2 separate regions of the Homo sapiens genome follow, and region 2 is linked to region 1. Evidence: promoter capture Hi-C in human tissues and cell types (Jung and others, 2019). All regions are on one chromosome and are shown on one strand. Each heading gives the region's core, a stretch centred on a gene start or on the middle of the fragment in contact. The rest is flanking DNA. Distances are from core to core; before and after follow the strand shown.

What was found. The method cuts DNA at HindIII sites, captures the fragments that hold promoters and counts their contacts. A contact is called where the count stands out against the background at its distance.
Region 2: a fragment that was not itself captured here is called in contact with the fragment with the promoter of EIF4A1 in region 1 in 1 of the 25 tissues and cell types used here (esophagus).

What each region holds. Positions count from the first base shown.
Region 1 is chr17:7,571,547-7,574,405 of GRCh38, reverse strand. EIF4A1 (eukaryotic translation initiation factor 4A1) reads right to left here and starts at 1,581. Exons shown (of 11, transcript NM_001416.4): 1 at 1,542-1,581; 2 at 98-146. The coding sequence starts at 1,564. It overlaps SENP3 (SUMO specific peptidase 3), which reads right to left. Exons shown (of 11, transcript NM_015670.6): 11 at 2,437-2,859. It overlaps SENP3-EIF4A1 (SENP3-EIF4A1 readthrough (NMD candidate)), which reads right to left. Exons shown (of 22, transcript NR_037926.1): 12 at 1,542-2,122; 13 at 98-146. RefSeq lists enhancers at 224-353, 1-571, 572-1,327, 1,834-1,903, 2,024-2,083 and 2 more and silencers at 494-633, 1,534-1,593, 1,604-1,663. The HindIII fragment of the contact is 10,064 bases long and covers 1-2,859 here.
Region 2 is chr17:6,198,491-6,201,414 of GRCh38, reverse strand. No RefSeq gene overlaps it. Among named protein-coding and RNA genes, the nearest start is that of WSCD1, 130 kb to the right of the region's middle. The HindIII fragment of the contact is 5,717 bases long and covers 1-2,924 here.

The DNA of each region.
Region 1 (2,859 bases), core at 332-2,831:
TCTAGATGATCTGGGAAATCAATCAAGAGGCCACTCTAACTCTATACGGCTGAAAGTTGTAATGGGGGAGGACAGAATTCCATTTCTCCAGTCTCACCTCGATGACGCCTTCGGGCTCCATCCCATCGGGGCCATTGTCTCTGGATCTGTTGGTTTAAAGCATAAGTTTTGTCCCCTGCCCGACCGAAGCACTCAGAAATCCTGACAGCCGGGCTCTGTCAGGAGTGGCCTGCATGATGCCATCAATCTGCTGTCCCAGATCCAACTCCCACCAGCTCCCAAAAAATACCCAAAGGAGGAGTTTCTATAAAACTGAGGCATTTGCCCCATGCAGGCAGCGGCTCAGGCCAGGCCACCCCCGACATAAGGGGGTGACCCTTTCTGAAGACAGGCCGGCAGGCGTGCCGCCGCGCTCACGGTGCCCAGAGGTGGTGCTTGCCGCCGGGTCCACGTGGGCCCGACCCAGCCGCTTAAAGCCCAAGCGCGTGCACCTCCCACCGCAGCACCAGCGCGCTGGAAGTCCCGCCCTTCACCTCCCAGATCGGAGGGTAGGACATCCCCTTCCCCCCACGTCATCCCGCCCGCGCCCTCCCCCACTCCCTCCAGCCGAAGCCCCCCCCTCGCGTTGCCCGGATGTGGGAGGCCGCGGGCGGTGGCGGCCTCGCGCACAATGAGCCCAAGCCGAGCTAGCAAAGGGGGAGATTGCACAACACTTAGAAGCGAAGCAGACTGGGGGAGGGGAACGCCTCAGGCCACCATGTGCTCGCTCCCTCGACCACCCGGCGGCGTCTCCCACCCCTCCATGAACAATCCACATCCCGCCCGCCCCCGTCGCGAAGTAGCGTCGCCCTCCCATACCTCAGGCCGCTCACCCCCGAAGGAAGGTGGACCTGCCCATCCGCAGTTTGCCAATAGCCCGGCTTGTGCGGCAAAATGGACCCGCCCGCCCGGCGCCGGGTGGGCTCCTGGTGCCTCACGCGGCCGCTCCTCGGGGTTAGGCTCAGTCCTGGCCGTCAAGAAAACCAGCACACTGAACGGCCGGTTTCTTCTCCCCGACCCGTGTTTTAGCCGCGACGAAGTGACTGGATCTAAGGACCAGGCACCCCCGCCTCTCGCGAGTGGTACCGTCAGAATGCTCCGGAACCCCGCGCGCCGTCCCTCCCCCGGCACAGGGAGGCAACCGGACCTGCCGGCTCTGGGCCACACATAGTGGCGGCCGCCTCCACCTTTCTTTCCCACGCCAGGTCGCGACCCCGTCTCGCCACTCAGCGCCGGGGCTTCGCGCATGGCACCGCCTCGGGTCGAGGCCTCGTAACAGACCTCGCACGCCTGACCCTAGCCGGGCTGTCCCTACCCTCCGCCTCGACCTGGTGGCCGCGTCGGCCGTGGGTCTTCCCCCTCGCCCCTCCAAGTCGGACCCTCCCCCCACCCGGTTCGGTTTCTCCCGCAACCCTGGTGGGCCTCTCAGCTACCCCCGGCGGGCCCGTCGGAAGGGGGCGGCAAAATAAGCAGCCACAATCTCTTGCAAATGCCTTTCTTACCGGGAATCCTGGCTCGCAGACATGATCCTTAGAAACTAGGGCGGAGTGCCCGCCTATCGACAACTTATAGAGCGCCCGACTCCGCCCCGGCCATCGCATTGGTTTGGCCGCCCCGGCCCCGCCTGCCGGCGCTCAGCAACTCGGCATGACGTTAGTTCCTAGTCGCTCCGGCCCGCAGGCACCATTGGATAACTCGAGTGCCTATCAAGGTGAAGGCCCGCCCCGCAGCCTCATTGGCTGGAGGGCCCGCCTTTCTCGCCGGTACGGAAGTGACATAGAAGAGTCAGGCCTCGAGGCCTGGCAGCCATCTTGGGGCCCTGCACTCTCACACGTGCGGAGGCGACAGTGCCTTGGTCATGTGGCTCCGTAGGCCCTATCACGCAAGGGGGGCGAGGTCTCAGCCTCCAGAGGCTTCCGGGCTCTGGGGGTTATCACTTCCCTTTACTTCTGCTCCCGGTCTCCACTGGACTCAAATGTTATTTGTTTTCCCCTGTAGCAGAGATGGATTCGACACTGCCTGGACGTGTGCCAGGGATGAAGGAATCAACAGCGATATCGTAGGGATGGGAGGATTCCCCTGGCTGGATGGTGGAGGGATGGAAGAAAACTGTAAAGGGCTTTGGGGTACTATCATGAATCCTGGTTGGTCCCCTCCCCAGTCCCTTGTGTCCAGTTCCCCAGCTTCCCTCTCGGATGCCCTTATTCTTGAGGCTTATCTACTTTCCCTCCTTCCTGCTCTCTGCTCCCATCTCGGGGATTTGTTTGGGTGAAGACAAGGTGTTGGCAGTGCCTGAGCCAGGGATGGAAAGCTGAACCCTTTAGTCTCAAGAGACTGGCTGGAAGGTCTGAGCTAAGCATATCCACTAATTTGAAGCCCCTTAAGGAAGACCACCACTTACGTATCAACAAAGGATCCTTTATTGACCAGAGCAGGACCGTGGCATTTATATATTTTTATATATATATATATATATATATATATATATATATATATATATATATATATATATATATATATATATATATAAAAGTTTGAAGATCTGGCAGGCAGTGATCCTATTGTCCGCCCACCACCCCCAGCACTGATTTCCTGCTCCCTGCACGGGGAAGGGGGAGGATGACTGCTCCACCCAGGCCACAGGGCCACACTCCCCTGCAAACAGAGGAAGAAAGGGGCTTTTCTGTAGCCACCCCCTGCACATCAGAAATCAACAAGTATTCTCTCAAAGAAAAAAAAATACAGAAATTGAAACATTTAAATATGAAAAACCAAAGGGAAGTGAGTGGGAAGAGGCAAGAGAGGAAAGGAACTGGAGTT
Region 2 (2,924 bases), core at 342-2,841, 1.4 Mb after region 1:
ACTTGAATAGGACTTACAGGAACCAGGCTTATGTTAGGTGATGGCGGACAGAATTCAAGGGAATGGAGCTTTGCTCTGGATTGGATGCTGGTGAAGGTAATTCTGTATCTGGTATCTAATAATTATTTTCTGTAAGGTGAGGAGAATAGAGAGAGACAAAGGCTGTGATTGCTAAAGACGTAGCAGTTCCTCATGGCAGCCCAGATTGGGAGATATTTAGTGATTTTCATGCACCTCTGGATAAGTTTCATGTTGACTCTGTTCAAACATGATTATGAGGGGTCTGGATTGGGTCTTAAGGCATCACAGTCTCAGAGTCTCCATGTCCAATGTTGATGTCCTGCAAAATTGCCCATGTTCAACAGTAGAGCACCAAGGCCTAGCTGAGGATACCAGGCCAGCTCTCGGCTACTGAGGTGCTTTCCTCTTTCCTACCCAGGAAGCATTCCCAGATGTTTCATTTTGTCCACTCTGTGCAATGGCCTGTGCACTGGGAGTCCAGAGAGGAAACAGCCATAGTTCCACCCCAGGGGAGCTCTCATCTTAGAATGGGGACAGGCTTGTCACTAATTGTGGTAATATTCTCAATTCATAAACTCAGCTGAGCAAAAAAAATTAGACTTTATTTTTCTGTAATTCAACCTAATTTCTGTCTCAAGCGTCCCATTCAGCTGGGATAGAAACTTATTTTCAGTTGCTATGGTCTGAATGTTTGTGTTCATAAGTTGAAATCCTCACCCCCAAGATGATAGTATGAGGAGGTGGGGCCTTTGGGAGGTGATTAGGTCAGGAGGGTGGAGCCCTCATGAATGGGGTTAGTGCCCTGATAAAAAAGGCTGCAGGGACATCCCTTGCCCCTCCTACCATGTAAGGACATGATGAGAAGGCATCATCTATTGACCACGAAGCAGGCCCTCACCATCCGGTGAGGACACAGTGAAAAGGCATCATCTATTGATCAGGAAGCAGGCCCTCACCATCCGGTGAGGACACAGTGAAAAGGCATCATCTATTGATCAGGAAGCAGGCCCTCACCATCCGGTGAGGACACAGTGAAAAGGCATCATCTATTGATCAGGAAGCAGGCCCTCACCACACGCTGAATCTACTGTTGCCTTGATCTTGGACTTCCCAGCCTTCAGAATCATGAGAAATAAAATTGTGTTACTTATAAGCTATTCAGTTTATGGTATTTGGTTATAGCTGCCTGAATGAGTTAAGAAATCTGTAATTGTCTCCCTGTCTGTCTTCACGGCTGCATCTCCATGTTCAGGAGGGCTGATATAGTGGAAGGGGTGTGGTCAACAATTTGAAATAAAAATTCTAGGTGATGTTATCAAGGTGGGGTGGGGGAAAAATGGGTGGACATGGCCTCACCCAACTCAACTCATAATAAAACTATGCTAAGGTTTCATCTCAGTCAACCAGAGGGATGTATTTACAGATTTGTGCTGGAAATTGCTTAAAAAATGTATGTTTGCTAATAAAGTTATAGAAAATGTAATTTTAAGTCCAGCACAGGAAAAATATCATATCTGAAATAACAACAAAAACAACTTGATCAACCCCATGAGAAACAAGGAAAGGAAAATAAAGAAAAAATAGGAAGTTGGGAAACCAAAATAAAACAGCAGAAATAAATATAGATTATCTATTACATAATGCAAACATATTAAATTTACCAATTAAAAGAGATTCTTAAATTTGATTTTTAAAAAAATGGTTGCTATTTAAGAGCATCTATAACTATTTATATAAGAGCAACTCATGTACTATTTAAAAGCAAAAGAGCTAAAACTAAATGACACCAAAGTATTACAAATAAAGAGATAAATAGCAATAACAGACCTGCAAAAGAAATATAGTCAGGCATCACTTAAAAACTGGGATACACTCTGAGAAATGTGCTGTTAAACAATTTCGTTGTGTGAACATCATCGCGTGCACTTCACAGAAACCTGGATAGTATAGCCTATTACATACCAAGGCTATAGCATATAGCCTACTGCTCCCAGGCTACAAACCTGGACATCGCGGTGGTGTACTGAATACTGTCAGCAATTGTAACACAATAGGAAGTATTTGTGTATATAAACATAGAAAAGAGACAGTAAAAGTGTGACATAAAAGATTATTTAAAAATGACACTTCTGGCCGGGCGCAGTGGCTCATGCCTGTAATCCCAGCACTTTGGGAGTCCGAGGCAGGCGGATGACGAGGTCAGGAAATCGAGACCATCCTGGCTAACACAGTGAAACCCCTGTCTCTACTAAAAATACAAAAAATTAGCCAGGTGTGGTGGCGGGCGCCTGTAGTCCCAGCTACTCGGGAGGCTGAGGCAGGAGAATGGCGTGAACCCGGGAGGCAGAGCTGGCAGTGAGCCGAGATCGCGCCACTGCACTCCAGCCTGGGCGACAGAGCAAGACTCTGTCTCAAAAAAAAAAAAAAAAAAATGACACTTCTATACAGGACATAAGTTTCTATACCAGCTGAATGGGAAGCTTGAAACAGAAATTAGGTTGAATTATAGAAAAATTAAGTTTTATATTTTTGCACAGCTGAATTTGTGAACTGAGGATATTACCACAACTAGTGATGAGAATATCCCCGTTCTGAGATAAGGGCACTTACTATAAATGCAGGAGCTTTCAGGACTGGAACTTGCTCTGGGAGAGTCAGTGTGTGAGTGGTGAGTGGGCATGAATGTGAAAGTCTAGGACATTACTGTACACTACATAAATACTGTGCACTTAAACTACACTCAAATTTATTTTAAAATATTTTTCTTCAATAATGAATTAACCATAGCTTATTGCAACATTTTTATTTTATAAGCTTTAATTTTTAAGAACGGGCACGGTGGCTCACACATGTACTCCCAGGACTTTGGGAGGCTGAGGCGGGCAGATCACCTGAGATCAGGA